Regions from separate parts of the Homo sapiens genome. Here regions 2, 3, 4, 5, 6 and 7 are each linked to region 1. The links are contacts of gene promoters, found by promoter capture Hi-C in blood cells and fetal thymus (Javierre and others, 2016). All regions are on one chromosome and are shown on one strand. The core of a region is centred on a gene start or on the middle of the fragment in contact, and the rest is flanking DNA. Distances in the headings are between cores, read along the strand shown.

The links. The method cuts DNA at HindIII sites, captures the fragments that hold promoters and counts their contacts. A CHiCAGO score of 5 or more calls a contact.
Region 2: a contact is called between a fragment that was not itself captured here and the fragment with the promoter of AGTPBP1 in region 1, in 2 of 17 cell types (total B cells and M0 macrophages). The highest score is 6.6, in total B cells.
Region 3: a fragment that was not itself captured here is called in contact with the fragment with the promoter of AGTPBP1 in region 1 in 2 of 17 cell types (M0 macrophages and M2 macrophages); the score reaches 9.7 in M0 macrophages.
Region 4: a contact is called between a fragment that was not itself captured here and the fragment with the promoter of AGTPBP1 in region 1, in 2 of 17 cell types (M0 macrophages and M1 macrophages). The highest score is 18.9, in M0 macrophages.
Region 5: a fragment that was not itself captured here is called in contact with the fragment with the promoter of AGTPBP1 in region 1 in 3 of 17 cell types (M1 macrophages, M2 macrophages and M0 macrophages); the score reaches 16.3 in M1 macrophages.
Region 6: a contact is called between a fragment that was not itself captured here and the fragment with the promoter of AGTPBP1 in region 1, in 3 of 17 cell types (M0 macrophages, M1 macrophages and M2 macrophages). The highest score is 13.9, in M0 macrophages.
Region 7: a fragment that was not itself captured here is called in contact with the fragment with the promoter of AGTPBP1 in region 1 in 2 of 17 cell types (M0 macrophages and M1 macrophages); the score reaches 9.9 in M0 macrophages.

Annotation. Positions count from the first base shown.
Region 1 is chr9:85,740,600-85,743,299 of GRCh38, forward strand. AGTPBP1 (ATP/GTP binding carboxypeptidase 1) reads right to left here and starts at 1,355. Exons shown (of 26, transcript NM_001330701.2): 1 at 1,176-1,355. RefSeq lists an enhancer at 369-518 and silencers at 689-1,008, 1,079-1,678. The HindIII fragment of the contact is 1,776 bases long and covers 80-1,855 here.
Region 2 is chr9:84,289,432-84,292,131 of GRCh38, forward strand. SLC28A3 (solute carrier family 28 member 3) reads right to left here. Exons shown (of 18, transcript NM_001199633.2): 11 at 723-848. It overlaps SLC28A3-AS1 (SLC28A3 regulatory antisense RNA 1), which reads left to right. Exons shown (of 2, transcript XR_001746802.1): 2 at 509-705. Among named protein-coding and RNA genes, the nearest start is that of SLC28A3-AS1, 13 kb to the left of the region's middle. The HindIII fragment of the contact is 568 bases long and covers 1,074-1,641 here.
Region 3 is chr9:84,353,832-84,356,531 of GRCh38, forward strand. It overlaps a transcript of SLC28A3 not described here. Among named protein-coding and RNA genes, the nearest start is that of SLC28A3, 14 kb to the left of the region's middle. RefSeq lists an enhancer at 2,219-2,700. The HindIII fragment of the contact is 3,937 bases long and covers 1-2,700 here.
Region 4 is chr9:84,375,163-84,377,862 of GRCh38, forward strand. No RefSeq gene overlaps it. Among named protein-coding and RNA genes, the nearest start is that of SLC28A3, 36 kb to the left of the region's middle. RefSeq lists an enhancer at 1,269-1,769. The HindIII fragment of the contact is 2,913 bases long and covers 1-2,700 here.
Region 5 is chr9:84,396,785-84,399,484 of GRCh38, forward strand. No RefSeq gene overlaps it. Among named protein-coding and RNA genes, the nearest start is that of SLC28A3, 57 kb to the left of the region's middle. The HindIII fragment of the contact is 7,909 bases long and covers 1-2,700 here.
Region 6 is chr9:84,329,362-84,332,061 of GRCh38, forward strand. All of the region lies in intron 1 of SLC28A3 (solute carrier family 28 member 3), which reads right to left. Among named protein-coding and RNA genes, the nearest start is that of SLC28A3, 10 kb to the right of the region's middle. The HindIII fragment of the contact is 1,958 bases long and covers 339-2,296 here.
Region 7 is chr9:84,311,414-84,314,113 of GRCh38, forward strand. It overlaps SLC28A3 (solute carrier family 28 member 3), which reads right to left. Exons shown (of 18, transcript NM_001199633.2): 2 at 1,946-2,041. Among named protein-coding and RNA genes, the nearest start is that of SLC28A3, 28 kb to the right of the region's middle. The HindIII fragment of the contact is 7,197 bases long and covers 1-2,700 here.

The sequences.
Region 1 (2,700 bases), core at 105-2,604:
AATAACTTTCCGGTTTTCTCAGACAACCAGTTTATAAGAATAATTCAGAAGTTCACAAAGGATAATTTGATTTACATAAAGCTTAAAAAACGGACATAAAAGGTAAGTGAAAATGACCGATTAAGAAGACTGTTAAGGTCCTTTCTAACTACAAATTGTCATGCATTGTAATTAAACACAACTACAATGTTAAACACCTGAAGGAAAAAACCCACATAGAATTAATACTGCCAAAGAAAATTTCCGCTATCTTCAGGCACTTGAGTAAGCTATGTTAAAACGGGAAATGGGCTTTAAATTATCAACATTCACATCGATTACACTATGATGCATGAAAACTCCATTCTACAATGAGTAAACGCCCAAGAAAGGAACCCAACCAACTCCAATTGCCCTGGTGCTCGTAAGAGGTTTATACCGCACAAGGGGTAAAACAACGGTAGAGTCGAGCAAGCCTTTGGGTTACAACAGTCCTTGAACACTTGCAATTGAGAACCCGCAATTCAGGAAGGAAGACACTAAGGAAACTCTGCACTGTCATCCAGGGTGATCTGATTCAGGTTCAAACCAAACGCTCAAGGCGACAAGTTGTAAACAGAAGACACACTTCAGCTCAAACCACCCAGCGAGAGGAAGCAAACGTGCCCATCGCCGATGTCACAGCAAATCCCACCTTGCTGGCGCTCAGTCGGGAACGCTAGAATTCTCGAAGCACAGGGGCCCGCGATTCAGCGGCCCGCTACCACTGGGGCGGGGGAGAGCGGGGCTGGGCGCGCCCGCCCCCGGCCCTGCAGCCCCTCGGCTGGACTCCCCGCGGCGCCGCGAGCTCGGGCCCGAGAGAAAGGGCTGAGCAGAAAGGGCGGCCTCCGCCCAGAGACCGCGCCCGATACCCTCCGCAAGGTCTGGGACGGGGATCCACCGAGGGTCCGGGGACTGGGGAAGGCGTTTTCCAGACCCAGTCAAAGCCCCACCCCGTCAGGGCTTTCCCTCAAGACCGAGTGCGTTCCCCTCACGCGTCACATGTGTAACATGCGTTACACAACCCGTCAGGTAAGGGGCGCAGGGATCCGGGGTCGCCCCTCCTACCCCCGGGCGCCGTCGCTCGCATCTCCCGCGGCCCGGGGAGAGCAGAGGGACGGCCGGCCGGGACATGAGGACTGCAGCAGGGCGCTCACCGGCTCAGGATGGGGCGCTGGCGGGGACCGCGCAGAGCCGCAGCACCCGGCTCAGCACCTGGATCACGGCGGATCCCTCGCCGCCCGCCGCCCGGTGTTTTCATACAAACCCCGGTGGCAGGCGAGGCGGAGGCGGCGGCGGCGGCAGCTGCGGCGGCGGCGCTGGAGGCGGCGGAACCTGTCCGCATCCCGGGCAACGTCAGCGCGGCGCCCCGCCCACCGCACGCCTTGCCAGCCGGCTCCCAGCACGCGCAGGGAGTGGGGGCGGGGCGTGCGAGGCCGCGAAAGGGGCGGGGCGGAGCGCACGCCCTCTTCCCGCCGCGTCCCTTGTTACCTCCGTGCGCGCTGCGCCCCGCCTCTCTGCGCGCCTGACGGGAGGGAGCGCGCGCGTGGGGGCGGAGCGCGCACGGGAGCGGGAATTAGGGGCGGGTGTTCCGCGCGCTGCCGGTCCCTTGTACCCAGCAGCCCCGGCCACCGCCCCTCCGTACCGAACTGCGAGCGACTCCCCACGTTCTTCAAGTCATCTTTCTGTACACTCCCAACGAGGGCCCCAGCCTTTTCCCGGAACTAAGCCCGCGCCCACCCCCTCCCCCGCCATCAATCAGTCACTTTCTTAGGAAGGGTTCTTAAAGCTCCCCACGTGATCCCGGGGTCGCATCAAACGCTGGGGACTGCGGTAAAGCTTAGACCTTTCCTGACCTCAAGGAGGGTCCATAATAAGAGGCTGGAAGGGACATGCTGTTACTACAATCGGGCTCCCAGAAAACAACAGGATTGCACCTTGTGGCCAAATCTCAGTAAATTAGATGCCTAGTGCTGCAGCGAACAAAATAGCATGCTGATTTACTGTTTTTTGAAAAAGTGCCTGCATATAATCAAAACGGTAATGCTAAGTTGGCTACTGAAGGCAAAGGCGGAATGTTTTATCTGAGCCAAAGTAATGTGTCAGAGAAATTACTAATACACCCCCTTCTGTTTTGACTGTACTTCAGTGTACTGCAATGTATTGCAAATAAATACTGACATCATTTACTTTTTCACGTTGCACAAGAACATGTTTGCTACTGTTTATGGTAAGGAATGTAATATCACAACTAGATAAGGGAATGCATTGAGAACTGTGAGATTTTTGTTTTGTTTTATGATCTTGTTCAAATAAAATTAAGCAGGTGTGAAAGCAATTCAAAAAGTAACCCAAGGTACACCACAGTGCTTCTTACAGTTTGCCCTTGGTAGATGTCTTTATTCAGATGAACAAGAAACTGCCATTTTATAAACATCGTAGTTTCCCTCATCGTGAGCACTAAAAGATAGGTTACGGTATTTAAAATAATTTTGAAACAACCACCACCCCAAACCACCCAATCAGAAACGTATTATCTGAAAATACCCAATAATAATGTAATAATTTTACAATAATGCTAAATATGTATGTAATATACCTGAAACTTTTCTTAAAGAACATGTTTCTAAATGAGTCAACCTGCAATATAGGAAGATATTATGTGGATGTGTGTGTTTGTGG
Region 2 (2,700 bases), core at 108-2,607, 1.5 Mb before region 1:
AACATTCTCTAGCCTTATACTACAGACTGCCAACTCTCAAACTTGGCTGTACATTAGAATCTGAGAGTTTTAAAAAATATTGATGGCTGGGTCTCATCCCAAGGAACTGTAGTTTAATTACTCTGAGATATGGACCTGGGCATTAGAGAATTTAAAAGCTCCCAGGTGATTCTAACGTGCAGAAAGGTTTGAGAATCACTGCTCTAGACCAGGGGTCAGAAAAGTTTTTCTGTAAAGGGCCAGAGAATAAATATTGTTGTCTTTGTGGATCACAACGACTCAACTCTGTAGCATGAAAGCTGCCAGAGACAAATGAATAGAAGTAGTTGCTTTCCAATAATTCATTTCCAAAAACAGGAGCAATTGGGATTTGGCCCATGGGCCATAGTTTACTGACTCCCAGTCCAGATCACCTTGACTGATGTAATAATTTTTTTTTTAACAGATTTAAATTTTCAACCAAAGCAACTTTATCATATGATTGCATTTTTCTGTTTTTATTCTGCAGATAGAACTCACATTTAGGCAGCAGGTATATGAAGCCCTGAAACTCCTTGGGATCCCTATGTTCAAATGCCAAAGCAACTGTGACCAACTTTTGCCATATGGCAAAAAAAGACACTCTCTTGGCCTCCTTTTTCCACCAGCAATGGAAAAGAAAAGAAATAACAATAATAAAGAAAGAAGAGGTTGGTGTTTTCATAATTCCAAAACATTCTTACCCCAAAAGAAATGTATGCACCTAGCACGCTTCCAGCAATGGTAGAGAACCCGGCGGTCATGATGGCGTGGAGTTCAGACTTGGTGATGTAAGGTAAATATGGTCGGACCAGCAGTGGAGACTCCGTCTGGAGACAAAGAAGGGTGACCAGATTCCTTTTTAAATCTGTGTGGGGGCAGGGGAAGGCATGCCAATCTACTCACAATTTTATTCTTTAAAGCAGACAGTTTCTAAGAGTGAACCTCAGACCAGCTCCATCAGCGTCACCTGGAAACTCGTTAGAAATGCAAATTATTTCGATTTACTAAATTAGAAACTCCAAGGGTGGGGGCTACCAATCTGTATTTTCACAAGCTTTCCGGGTGATTCCAATGCATGCTCAAATTTGAGAACCCACACCATCGACGTCTGGGTTATTTGAACTCTAGATCAGTTTCCATATGTGGTCATGTATAAATTTTGTAAAATTCGTGAGGCTAGACATAGAAGGCCTCCACCCAGCCTAGGACTGGACTCTGTGATGTCTTGGTGCACTTTTCTAAGGGCCAACTGACTCTATGCAGTGGCCTAACCTTCTGGATGGGTGATTTCTAAGCCACTGTGGCTTCCTGTCTTCCAACTTCACCTTGACAGACCCTAAACCTGTTTCCTGACCTCAGAGAAATAGACACAAGCATTAAAAACAAACAAACAAACAAACAAACAAACAACCTCAGCAATAACAAGAACAGGTGCCCGCAGGCCCTTCTGTAATTGAGAATCAGAGACCCCTCTCTGATGGGTGGAAAGGAAGAAGCAGACAGAGTGTAGTTGTAAAGGCTTGAATCCCATTAAGGAGGACAGGCAGCCTGCGGCATGGGGCTCTCCATAGATAATAGCTGTACTTTTAGCATATTAAGTATCAAATTGAACATCACAGAAGCTTGTGTGCAATTTTACAATTTTCTCCTTATTATCTCTAATTGTTCTGTAAGATTGAATGTGTGGAGCCTCGATTTACCGACTAAATAGGAACCCTGTGCGGGAGCCCTCTTACCCCACAGGTAGGAGCAATCAACTCAAGATGGTGCCCTAATTAGTCCTGAGAGATTTTATGACTGTAATTATAATAATTTCAACTCCTAGGGAAGGAAGCATGGGATGGGCCCCCACTCTAAAGACTATGCTCCAGGCTAGTAAGCATAGGTTTTTTTTCTTTTTTGAGACAGAGTTTTGCTCTTGTTGCCCAGGCTGGAGTGCAATGGCATGATCTCGGCTCACTGCAACCTCCACCTCCTGGGTTCAAGCAATTCTCCTGCCTCAGCCTCCTGAGTAGCTGGGATTCCAGGCATACGCCACCATGCCCAGCTAATTTTGTGTTTTTAGTAGAGACGGGGTTTCTCCGTGTTGGTCAGGCTGGTCTCAAACTCCCGACCTCAGGTGATCTGCCCGCCTTGGCCTCCCAAGGTGTTGGGATTACAGGCGTGAGCCACTGCGCCCAGCCGTAAGCATAGTCTTTAGAGTAGAGGCCCGTGCTTCTTGTTGGCTTACCAACAAGAAGTTTCAGCCTGCCAGGAGCAGTTGTAAGCCTGGGATTTGGGGCTATGTGTTTTTCTGAGTGACTTGATTTTTGCTTCAAATTCAGTTTCCTTGGGCAGTGGTGCTGGCAAGCGTTCATACCTGGTTTTCGTGGCGTGTGACTCCATTCTGCCTGAAGCTGCATATCTGGAGTGATGAGGGGCTTATTACAATTTCTTACTGATCCACCCCTTAGCCATGCTGCTATTTTGAGGGACACTCCTTGGCATGATATTTATTTGCTTAAATGGGCTTCAGGCAAAAGAGCGTTTCTCCATGTGATGGAACAGGGAGGTGAAAATTGAAGTCTAAAAGCTTATTTTTGATGAGAAGAGAAAAACCTAAAAGCATTTTTCTTCAGGCTCAGCAAAGACAGAATATTGGCCAGTTCAGACAAGTTGAGAATAAGCTCAAGTATTTAC
Region 3 (2,700 bases), core at 192-2,691, 1.4 Mb before region 1:
TTCCTGTTAATTTTAGTTTTACTTATTTGCCTTGTTAGCATTCATTAGCATGATTCAAAACTTATCAAAACCAATCATTCCAGGTAAATCCCATTCATTCACTCAAAATATAAATTCTAATTACTGAAAGAAAAAATCCTACTTATCGGCTTCCTCTTATGATAGCTGTACATACTGAGATATTGGTGTCACTGTTCTTTGTTAGTATAGGAATGTGGCTCAATGCCTGGCTCTCACCTCATCTTGTTCTCTTTCTTCTTTGCTCACAAATCTTCCAAGTCCTCCAGATCTGTTCTGGCCACAGGACATTTTCACTTGAATTTGGACTGGCCCCTGGACTGGCTCTTTCTCTTTGCTCAGATCTTAGCTCCTCAGCGAGGCTGTCCCAGGCCACACTGTCCTGTTGCCAGGCCAACCCTCATAGAGGACACTGTTTTGTGAACCATGGGCTCTCCTGCATGGGGCATAGGGCTGTGCATGGAGGCAATGCAGAGGGTAGGTATCTAAGAGCTCTGAAAGCCTGGCTGGTAAATACCATCCCCCCTGAAAGGAACCCCACAGGTTACACCTAGGACTTCTTGTGCTAGAAACAATGAAGTTTTTAAACCTACCTAAGTTTATAGCCAAAGGATATAGGAGTGGCCTGGGAAAGAACAATGTTTATAATCGATTGAAACACATAAAACCTTCAAAAATTCATGAGTCTATAATGATACTTAAAAACGGAAACTCTAGGCCGGGCACAGTGGCTCACGCCAGTAATCCCGGCACTTTAGGAGGCTGCGGCAGGCAGATGGCTTGAGCCCAGCAGTTAGAAACCAGCCTGGGCAACATGGCGAAACCCTGTCTCTACTAAAAATACAAAAATTAGCTGGTATGGTGGCGTGTGCCTGTAATCCCAGCTACTCGAAAGGCTGAGGTGGGAGGATCGCTTGAGCCCAGGAGGCAGAGGTTGCAGTGAGTCTAGATCGTGCCACTGCACACCAGCCTGGGCAATAGAGTGAAACCCTGTCTCAAAAAGAGAAAAAAAGAAAAAAAAAAGAAAGAAAGAAAAAAGGAAACTCTGAAAAAAACCTAAAAAGGGAGAAAATAAGCATTTATATTGTTCATAAGGAATTGCATTCAGGGTAACTAAATAGCCCCAGTTGTTAAGAAGAAGCTATACCTTATATATCAATGCCAGCAACAAATATAAAAATGATAGAATTTGAAAAGCATGATTTTGTGATCCTTTGAGCAGGGATAATCAATTGGAATTAAATCACTGGTTGGGTAGCTTATGGGGTGCTGGACGTCGTATGGAGCCAAATTCACAGTGTGCAGATGACATATTGCCACAGGGGAAACAGTAAAACGCATAATAAAGATGTCAGGGCTGAGGCAGGAGGATCTCCTGAGGCCAGGAGTTGGAGATCAGCCTGGGCAACATAGTGATACCCCTGCCTCTGAAAAAAGAAATAGCCAGGCACAGTGGTGCATGCCTGTAGTCCCAGCTAACTGGGAGGCTGGGGTGGGAGGTCTGCTTGAGCCCAGGAGTTCAAGATTACAATGAGCTATGATCGTGCTACTATAGTACAGCCTGGGTGATGGGGTGAGACCATGTCTTGGGGGAAAAAAACACGTCAGGCCAATACTAATCCAAATCAACAATTTACTATACATGGGTCCACCAGATATCATGAACTTCTGATGTGGGGTGATAAAAAGTACATATTGTCATTTTCGGTTTGGTCTATATATATTTTGATTTCTTTTTTTTTGTAAGAGCTCTGAAGTCAGACTGCCTGGTTCTAATCCTAATTCCCCTATTTCTAGATTGGGAACTTGAGCAGTTTATGCAGACTCTCAGAGCCTCTTAGGGTTTTGTGAGGATCTAACGAGAATACTTGTGCAATTGTTGGAATGGGGCTGGGTACTTAAAACACTCAATACTCAATACATTAGCTATTATCATTGTAAGTGCCCTATTCTTCCTTTTCTTATTTTATTTTATTTTATTTTAGAAAGGTTCTTACTCTGTCACCCAGGCTGGATTGCAGTGGTACAATCATGGCTCACTGCAGCCTTGACCTCCCTGGTCTCAGGTGATCCTTCCACCTCAGCCTCCCAAGTAGCTGGGACTACGGGTGCACCCCACCACACCCAGCTAATTTTTTTTAAAAAAATTGCAGAGATGGGGGTTTCACCATATTGTCCAGGCTGGTCTCAAACTCTTGGGCTCAAGCAATCCGACTGCCTCAGCCTCCCAAAGTGCTAGGATTATAGGCATGAGCCACTGCACCCAGCACCTATTATTTCTTGAATAAGTGCAAACTATTGTCGTAATAGCCATAGATAGCTATATAGCTCACCTCCCCCTTCCACCCAGTTCAGCCCATGGGATTCTAGACTTACAGCATGGGATAATTTGAGACCCATCAAGGCATCAGGACCAAAGTTTCAGGCCCTCCTCCCATCATTAACCCATCCTCAAGGCCTGAGGAGGTCAGTTAAGGGCTCCGAAACTGGGCTTCCTCATGAACCTGAAAGAAAAGTGGGCAGGGCCTCAAATCTGTGGCCTATGGGGAGAAAGGTGACGCACACCTGGGCAGGAAGGTATTGTTCAGTGTGACTATCTGCTAAATCCCTGGGGCTCCATCCAGCTAAGATAAAATGTGATGGTTCCCATTCTCAGTAGACAATACACCAATCCTATTTTTC
Region 4 (2,700 bases), core at 175-2,674, 1.4 Mb before region 1:
TTTTATTTTTTTCTGAGATGGAGCTTTGCACTTCAGGCTGGAGTGCAGTGGTGCGATCTCGGCTCACTGCAACCTCCGTCTCCTGGGTTCAAGCAATTCTTCTGCCTCAGCCTCCAGAATAGCTGGGATTACAGTCACCATGCCCAGCTAATTTTTGTATTTTTAGTACAGATAGGGTTTCACCATGTTGGCCAGGCTGGTTTCGAATTCCTGACCTCAGGCGATCCTCCCGCCTCGGCCTCCCAAAGTGCTGGGATTACAGGTGTGAGCCACTGTGCCCTGCCGGTTTATTTATTTTTATTGCTGTATAGTATTCCATTGTATCAATGCTACCATTTACTTATCCAAACTTCCACTGATGAACATTTGAATTGTTCCAGTTCTTTTTATCATGAACAATGCTAAGAACATTCTTGAATATGTTTTTTGTGCACATGTGCAATAATTCTTGGGGTATACAATTAAGCCTGATATTGACATGAGTGTTCAATTTCTTAAGATAATGGACAACTATTTTGCACTGATGTTGAACCACTGTTGCTGGCAATTATGGGGGGAGCACTATATTTGGGACATGGGGAAGGGATGAGGCCAGGGAGGGGCTTGGTTGATGGGAGGGCAGGGAAAGAATTCTCAGCATAGAAAAGTGGTAGTTCCAGGCATTCTTGGGTGGGCCTGAGCTTAGCTGGTGAAAAACAGAAAGGCTGGAGCACAGAAGTGGGGGAACATTGGCAATGAGGTGGGAGAGGAAATCAGAGCCAAGTCCTGAAAGCCAGATTAAAGAATTTGATTTTATTCAATGTGAGGATTTTGAGATGGGGAGTGGATGTGATTTTATTTACATTTCTAAATAACATTTTGGCTGCTCTGTAGAGAATGGATTAGGGTTGAAAGCAAGAAGAACATTAGATGCTAATCATAACAGTCTGAGAGCCCGGGGCTGAGCAGTGCAGAACTGGTTGTGTCGTGGTAGGGGAGATAAGACCTGCTATCAGAGCAGATGTGGGCTGTGAAGGAGAGACAAGAATCAAGGCTGACTCTGAGTCACCAAACTTGTCCCATCTACCTCTTAAGTTTTTCTCAAATGTATGTGTCCCTTCTTTTTCCATTCCACTACCTCAGGTCTTACTATCTCTCATTTGACTACTGCAAGAAGCTGTCAACGAACTCTTCCCAGGGCCTCAAGCTGGCTCTCTTATCCTCCCTCCATCGATCTCCATATAGCTGATGAAATTACTTTTCTAATCAATGATTTTTCTAGATAAAGCAAGTCACATCATTTTCTTCATTAAAAATCTTAGGTGAGTCCCTAAATGCCCTTAGACCAAAACCTTATTCCTTAGGGATAGGAAAAGGAATTACAATGTTGAGTACTTTACATACCTTGAATCCTCATTTAATCCCTCCTAGAATTCCATGAAGAAGCGATTACCCTTGTTTTGTGGGTAATACAACTGAGGCCAGAGTGAAGGAATTTTCCCAACATCATAGGGTCACAGAGATAATAAATGACAGGGGTCTGTTCACATAAGCCAGTGGTTCCCAAACATGGGTGCAAGAGGGTCCTTGTTGGGGGCGAGAAGGCCCCCCAGGGCAATGATATCTCAATATCCTGGGGAGGCACCTGAGTTAATTTTCTCTCTCCCTCCCTCCCTTCTTTCTTTTTTTTTTAATTTCTTGACTTTACTTACTTATTTTTTGAGTCAGAGTCTCACTCTGTCACCCAGGCTGGAGTACAGTAGCGCCATCTTAACTCACTGCAACCTCCAACTCTTGGGCTCAAGCAGTCCTCCCACCTCAGCCTCCAGAGTAGCTGGAACTACAGGAGTGTGACACCATGCCCGGCTAATTTTTGTATTGTTTGGAGAGATGAAGTTTCACTATGCTGCCCAGGCTGGTTTCAAACTCCTGAGCTCAAGTCATACACCCACCTTGGCCTCCCAAAATGTTGAGATTATAAGCATGACCCACCGTACCCAGCCTGACTTTATTTTTTAAGGCAGTTTTAGGTTCTCAGAAAACTTGAGTGGAAAGTAGAGATTACCCATATACTTTCTGCCCCAACACATGCTCAGCCTCCCTCATTATCAACATCCCCCACCAGGGTGGTACACTTGTTACAATCTATGGACTGTAATATCTCCACAGTGTTGCCTTGTCCAGAATGTCATATAATTGGAATCAAATAACATGTAGGCTTTTCAGATTGGTTTCTTTCACTTAGTAATGTGCAATTAAGAAGCCAAAATGCACATTAAGGAGGTTAATGTCTTTTCATGGCTTGATAGCTCATTTCTTCTTAGTGCTAAATAATATTTCATTGTCTGAATGTACCACATTTTATCCATCACCTACTGAAAGACATCTTGGTTGCTTCTAAGTTTGGGCAATTATTGATAGAGCTACTATAAACATCTGTGTGCAGGTTTTGGTGTAGATATACATTTTCAGCTCTTCTGGATAAATACGAAGGAGCTCAATTGCTGGGCTGAAGTGATCCTCCTGCCTCAGCCTCCCAAAGAACTGGGATTATAGGAATGAACCACTGTACCTGGCTGAACACGAGATTTGGAAGGGAAAAAACTTCCAAACTGTATCACTGGTATACAGAAAAGTGATTAACTTCTTGTATATTAACCTTGTATCCTATAACTTTGCTATGATTGCTTATTAGTTCTAGGATTTTTTTTGGTTGATCCT
Region 5 (2,700 bases), core at 132-2,631, 1.3 Mb before region 1:
ATCACTCTACCCATGGGTGGATACTCAGGGTTGTTCAGAACCAGGAAGGCTGGTAGGAGTTGCAGAATTTATTTAGCCTCAGGTCTTTGGTGTTGCTGAATCAACCCAGATTTGTAGTAAACTCCAAGAGGCAGGTTAGCACTGGGCACTTGGGAACAGAACCCCTATGGACAAGGAGCAACAGACGATACTGGTGAGATGGCAGGCATAACAGGGTTAAAGACCTAATGGAGACCCCTAACGAGGCATTCAGCTGGATCTACATTAGCTCTGGAGGCAACCACCAGGACCACTTTGGACCTTATGCGTTTTATACCATGTGAATGTATTTCTATTAATATAAGTAAAATAATTTTAAGAAAAAGAAGGGAAGGGCATGCCCACCTGCTCTGTCATGCTGTTTGTCTCTGGCAGAGAGGCAGGTGCTCTGGAAGGAGCTGGCAGCCTGTGATGACCTAGAATGGCCACTTGGTGGCAGTGTTTCACTTTAATTGGCCCAAGGCAACCCGACCTGGTTTTATGAACTTCTAGCTGCGGATTTCTGGGACCCGCCCTCAAGGTTCAATTTATAGGCCTCGAGTGAAGATGCAAAATAGGATCCTGAGTGGAAAGTAATGGCTGTAACAGATATCCTCTGGCTCCTCCCTGTCTTCTTTCCCATTAGAACATCTCCCATCTAAGAGCTGCTTAGCAGGAGACAGGGGTCAATATCACAGAGGCCGGATCAGAGGCAGAAGCTGGGCTGCTTTAGGCCTGACACCGTGTGAGGGACCTGAAGGCAAGGAGCGTGGCTGCATCTGCCAGGCACGGGTGCTCAGGGGTGCTGCGAGTCCCCCAGGCCAAGGACGGGGCGTGCATTCATGGAGAGTGTTTGGCTGTCTTCTTTCCTGTGCTGGCGCGTTTCCAGGGGCCCACTCTTTCTGAGGGGTCTCTCAGGGAGGGCATGGCTGTGAAAAGTGAGGGAGGAAGCCGCAGGGATGTCACCTTCGGCCGGTTACAAAGCCCTTCTGGGCCACGTTCTCCTTTGTGGGATTGGGACGTTGATCCACTTCAGAGGCTCCCAGGCCCCCAGTTCAGGGCTGTCCCAGAATCACCAGAGAAATAAATTAACACAGATTCCGGGGCCCCGCCACTGCTCAGTCTATTCTATGGGTCTAGTTGGGAGCCCCGGAATCTGTGGGTTTAATAAACCCCAGAAGAACCCAATGAAGTTTGGAATCCAATGGTTAGGGGTGCTTTTTTGGATTCCTTCTAAGTGAGAAATTGTGACTGTGGAAGTGATGACTCACTGTGAAGCACACGGGCCCTGAAATCCACCCCTTCAAGCTGTTGATCTTTGTATGCATTTATTTCCTCAAGATGTTGCTGGCTCTTCCCGGGCCAGGAAGCAGATGCTGTGCCCGGTAAGGCCCGTCCTTCCAGTCCAGCCTTTACCACCCATGCGGAGTGAGGGTGAGGGCTCCGAAGGTGCTTTTGACCCTAATGTCATAACCATGGGGGGTGGACACAGATGTAAACTCGAAACTCTTCTTATTATTGAAAAATGTAAATATATACAAAAGTAAAGAGAATAGTATAATGAATCCTTATTTATCCACTACTTAGATTCAACAATTATCAAGATTTTGCCACATAGCTCTTATTCACATGCCAAGGGGGAGAAAAGAAGATTTTGCTATAGAAAAATTATCATACTTTCATTTTTTGTGTTTGTCTTTGCTGAAATTTTTGCTTGAAAAAGGCAAATATCCAGGTTTCTAGTCATTTCCGCCTACATGGGGCATTTCTTCTGTGCCTTTATTACATGTTAATAATGACTTCTCAGGCCGGGCATGGTGGCTCATACCTGCAATCCCAGGATTTTGGGAGGCTGAGGCTGGAGGATTTCTTAAGCCCAGGAGTTCAAGACCAGCCTGGGCAACATAGTAAAACCCCATCTCAATAAAGATATTTTTAAAAATATTAAAATTGTTTTTTAAAAGAGAAAATAAATAATAACTTCTCAATATCATATAATTCTGACCCATACTCAAATTCCTCCAGAATTAGCTCAAAAATGTCTTTTGACATTTGATTTGAGGTCTAGGCTTCTGAGGTTATCTCCTAATGTCTCCCAATACATGCATTTGCAAAGATCCATTGAAGGGGTTGGACATTTAAAACATAGCACAACTTTTTAGCCTGAAACACACACAGAGCCCTGCAGAAAAGTGAAGTTGAGATCCTCACAGGTTCTGAGTTAGAGGGGCCTTGGAGATTATTCAGCTCACCCTTTCCTCAGTACTGGAGTCCTTTGACAGGATCAGGACTACTGTACATTTGGTATTGAAATTGCTCTTGCAAAATTATGACGGTAAGAAATCTAAGTCCAGGCGCGGTGGCTCACGCCTGTAATCCCAGCACTTTGGGAGGCTGAGGTGGGCGGATCACCTGAGGTTGGGAGTTTGAGACCAGCCTGACCAACATGGAGAAACCCCATCTCTACTAAAAATACAAAATTTGCTGGGTGTGGTGGTGCATGCCTGTAATCCCAGCTACTCAGGAGGCTGAGGCAGGAGAATTGCTTGAACCTGGGAGGCGGATGTTGCAGTGAGCCGAGATCATGCCATTGCACTCCAGCCTGGGCAACAAGAGCGAGACTCTGTCTCAAAAAAAAAAAAAAAAAAAGAAATCTGATACAGTTGACTCCATCTTACTTCT
Region 6 (2,700 bases), core at 68-2,567, 1.4 Mb before region 1:
CAACTAGACCTTATAGACATATACAGAACACTCCACCAACAAAAGTAGAATACACATTCTTCTCAAGTGCATGTAGAACATTCTCCAGGCTAGATCACATGTTAGGCCCAAACAAATCTCAATAAATTTAAAAATATTGAAAGATAATGTGTCTTCCCCAACCACAATTTGGGGAAAACTTATAAATTATGAGGAAATTAAGCACACTCCTAAATAACCAATGGATTAAAGAAGAAATCATTAGGGAAGTTAGAAAATAGTTTGATAATAATTAAAATGCAGCCTGGGTGACAGAGTGAGACTCTGTCTTATAAAAAAAAGAGAATTAATAAAAATAAAGCTTAGAGTGAGACTCTGTCTCATGAAAAAAAGAAGAAGAAAGAAAAATAAAGCTGAGCACAGTGATGCATGCCTGTAGTCCCAGCTACTTGGAAGGCTGGGGTGGGTGGATTGCTTGTACCCAGGAGTTTGAGGCCAGCCTAGGCAACATAGCATGGCCCTCATCACAAATAAATAAATAAATAACAAAAATGAAAATATACGAAAATTTATGAATATCGCTAAAGCAGTGCTTACAGGGAATTTTATAATTGTAATTGCTTATATTATCAAGAAGTAAGATCTCAAATCAATAATCCAATCTTCTACTGTAATGAACTAGAAAAAGAACAACAAACTAAATCCAAAGTTAGCAGAAAGAAAGAAATAATGAAGATTATCGTGGAGACAAATGAAATATAGACTAGAAAAACAAAAGAGAGAATCAATGAAACCAAAAGTTGGTTCTTAACTTACTTAAGGGAAAAAAAAAGCTCAAAAAAACTAATAGCAAGTGAAGAGATTGAATTGCTAACCATAAACCTCCCAACAAGGAAATGTCAAGGAAAAAAGAAACCAAGGAAAAAAAAGAGAGAAGACAAATAACTAAATTCATGAATGAAAGAGGAGATATTACTACTGATATTACAGAAATAAATGTAAAGTTGTTACTTTAATTTTTTGGCATAAATCTGGTGGTCAGGTCCTTAAAGAGGAAGGATAACCAGATCTGTGTGTGTGTATGAACTCTAAAACCAAAAACACATGCTTACGTGGGTGATCCAATAGAATAACCATCAGTGGCAAGTGGTTACTGAGTGCTTGAAATGTGACTAATATGACTAAGGACCTGAATTTAATTTTAACTAATTTAAATTTAAATTAAAAACTGAACATTAGATCCATGTATTGAAAAACAGGCATGTTTAGAACAACTTGATTATGAATCTACTTTTTACAAATATACATTTTATGAAATCTAAAAACAGATCAAGTATTTCTGATAAAAATGTAGCATTAGAGTTGACATGTACTATATGTTTAAAATATGCACTGGATGTTCAAAGACTTGGTATGAAACAAATATAAATTATTTCATTAATTTCAATATATGAGGTTCCATAAAATATAGTTAAAATAAGGTGAAGAGTTATACCTACTTTATTTTGCATTTTTAATGGGCTTGCAGAAAAGTTTTAAATTACATATCTGGCTAGTGTTACATATTAGAAAGTTCTGCTTTAGCCCTCAGCAAAAATGTATCTTTATCTACATTATTAATTATTTTCTATTTTCTTTCCAGTGCCTCAACACTGATGAGTAAGTGGCTCCTCAATTTCAAGGGGAATCACTTCAGGAGTGTTTGAATGAGGAAAAACTAAATCCTTATACCCTCTCTCTCTGAGATGCCATGGAAGTGACTTGGTTTACAATCCCCTACACTGTTTTCCCCTAAAAATAAGTCTAGGTGTGATCATGCAAACTTGAGGAAAGAGTAGAGAATATACTTTTCTTTTTTAACCTCCTTCCCAAAAGCGAATTATTGTCATGTGTTTTTGTGTGTGTGTGTTTTAATTGAATATAGGAAGCTCCAGCCGAGCGCCTCTTGAGCAATGTGAAAGAGTACTCAATGTGATTCATATTGACTTCCCAGGCTAGTGGGTTAAGGAGAAACAATATTCTTCTTCCCTACATAACATAGTTACTTCCTACCTTAGAACTTTTGTATTCAAAGTACGTGCTTGACAAGAAGTCTACACCTGTACTCCAGCAGGTTTGGATCCCTGATGGACTTACACTTACATGATCTCCCAAATTGTAAACTCCATTTAACAAACTCTCCAAACCTGCTTGACTGGCTTACTCATGGAGTAACTCAGCCTTTCCTGTGTGTTTGTGCAGAGTGAGGCCCATTTCCCCAGCCTAGTCCTCTCCCAAGACTTTCGTAAGTGAGTTCCACCCAACTAACTTCAGAGCAAGCTTGGGTTCTGTGCCTCTGAGAGCAGCTGTGGTAAGATTGATTGCTTATTCACAGGGAGGAGGAAACTTGAGTTGGGATTCCAAGAGATGCCTTTTAATAAATGTGTTAAAAAACATTCCTGCATTTTCCTCTTAGAAATTCTGAACTGTTTTGACCTCTGTTGCTGTTAACTTCCATCTCTTTGGATTCTTCCCCATCTCCTCTGAGTTTGGAAAAATCTTTCAGTTGCCCTGTTCCAAAAAGCCTCTCCCAAATATGGACACGTGGCAAAATATCTGTGGAGTGGGGAAAAGGTTCTTTTTTAAAGCAATGTTGATGATCACTGAGTGGTGTTAAAAGTAAATTTAAAAAATAATAATGCCAAAATAAGTGGATGTTCGTGTGGAAAGCAAACTTGACTC
Region 7 (2,700 bases), core at 73-2,572, 1.4 Mb before region 1:
TGAGGAGCCTACATGGACACATCACCATCACCCAAAGTCTGCAGTGAGACTCTCTTGGTCTTGTACATTCTATGGGTTTGGACGCATGTATGATGGCATGTATCCACCATTGTAGTATCAGGCATACTAGTTTCATGGCCCTAAAAATCTTCTTATGGCCAGGCGTGGTCACTCATGCCTGTAATCCCAGCACTTTGGGAGGCCAAGGCAGGCGGATCACAAGGTCAGGAGATCAAGACCATCCTGGCCAACATGGTGAAACCCCGTCTCTACTAAAAATACAAAAAAAAAAATTAGCTGGGCACAGTGACGGGTGCCGGTAATCCCAACTACACGGGAGGCTGAGGCAGGAGAATCACCTGAACCCGGGAGGTGGAGACTGCAGTGAGCTGAGATTGTGCCACTGCACTCCAGCCTGCTGACAGAGCGAGATTCCATCTCAAAAAAACAAAAAACCCCACACTTCTTATTTGTCCCTACCACCCCCTGATGCCTTGAAAGCACTATTTACTGTCTCCATAGTTTTGCATTTTCCAGAATGTCGTATAGTTGGGATCGCACAATAGGTAGCCATTTTAGATTGGCTTCTTTTACCCAGTAATGTACATTTAAGGCTCCTTCATGTCTTTTCATGGCTTGATAGTTCATTTCTTTTTAGCGCTGAAAGACACTGCATGTCTGAATGTACCACAGTTTATTTATTCATTCACCTACTGAAGGACATTTTGGTTACTTCCAAGTGTTGGCAATTACAAATAAAGCTGCTCTAAACATCCATGTGTAGGTTTTTATGTGGACATAAGTATTGTTTTCTTTTTTGTTTGTTGAAGAATACTTAGTGAACATTTTTTACAATCAATTAAGCAAAATAGACAGTTACCAAACACTGTACTATGCATGGTATGATTCCAATACAGATGACATATGCATGTGGGTGTATGTTTGCATTAAAAAAGGCTGTGTTCCAAAATGTTAGGCACTGACTTTTTTTCTTGAATTATAAGCCTTTTTTGGTTTTCCAAATTTTGCTACAATAAGTTTTCCAAATTGTCTACTTTAAAAAAAAGTGATTCTTTTACCACGAGAAAACTCCTCACAAAATGACACACTAGTGGGCACCCCAAATTCCTTTTTTTTTTTTTTTTTTGAGAATCTCGCTCTGTCGCCCAGGCTGGAGTACAGTGGTGCCATCTCGGCTCACTGCAACCTCTACCTCCTGGGTTCAAGTGATTCTCCTGCCTCAGCCTCCAGAGTAGCTGGGATTACAGGCACACGCCACCACGCCCAGCTAATTTTTGTATTTTTAGTAGAGATGGGTTTTCACCATGTTGGCCAGGCTGGTCTTGAACTCCTGACCTCAAGTGATCCGCCCACCTCAGCCTCCCAAAGTGCTGGGATTACAGGCATAAGCCACCGTGCCCGGCCCTGAATTACCTTTTAAGGGGTGACCTACATGGGTAATTTGTTCACCTTTTTGGCAACAGGAAGCCATCTTTAAATAAACTCCTGTCCAGAATTCAACATGTAAGTGAAATTAAGCAAGAGTCCCTCGGACTGGTATAAAGCTACTAAGGAATGCGAGTGCATGATGGACCCAGATTCAGAACCATAGTAGAGGGTTCCTCTTGTTTCTGTCATTTACGTTAAAGCTCAGATGCTTTTGTCTAAGCCAATGCCTTTTTCCTTGAGATGGAGCTTGGAACTCCTAATAGTGAAGTGATGCTTCCCATCAGGGAACTCTGAGGACAGGTGGATAAAAACAAAATCTCTTTGTTTGGGCGTGTGTGTTTTCTTTACGACTATGCCCCCACACACTTTAATTACCACTTAATCTGTTCCTCTGCGTGCCAGTGGGGCGCCATGCTTTCTGTGCCCACTGTTCTCAGGTGCCTGTTGCGCAGCGGCTGCCATGGTACTAGAGTCATGCACCACAGTCTTGCTGTACCTGTTTGGTGTTTGTGTGCTCCCTGCTTTGCACAGCTCTGCTTCTTATTGAGTTGTTTCCTGATGTGTTCTCGTTCTCAAGAAAGTTTTCTTCATTCTAAGAAAAAAGTGCAGATTGAAAAAATAAAAAGTTACAGCCAAAAGACAGATGTTCTTTCATGAAAAATACCTAGAGGAATTTGGAGGATGAGACAAACAAAGATTAGGTGTTCAGATGAAGCATCCGATTCAACAAACAGCTGACAAATCCTGGGCTTGTAAAGAAACAGATGATCGGCTGGGCACAGTGGTTCGTACCTGTAATCCCAGCATGATGGGAGGCCGAAGTGGGAGGGGAGACCAGCCTGGGCAAAATCCTGTGTCTACTAAAAATATAAAAATTAGCTGGGCGTGGTGTTGTGCACCTATAATCCCAGCTACTTGGGAGGCTGAGGTAGGAGAATTGCTTGAGCCCCAGAGGCAGATCATGCCACTGCACTCCAGCCTGGGAGACACAGCAAGACTCTACCTGAAAAAAAAAAAAAAGAAAAGAAAAGAAAGTAAAGAAAAGAAACATATGACTTTTGCTTTGTTTTGTTCTGATACAAAAGTGGTCCAGGGGAAGAGAGGAATGAGGACAATTGCCCTCATCTCGGCCTGATAACTTTCCAATAGGCAGAGCTGGGACCAGGGGCAGGTTTCCACTCTCCTTTCTATCACATCACACTGATTTTCAACTTATAAAATGAACTAAAACGTGGTAAACCATAGGCTGAA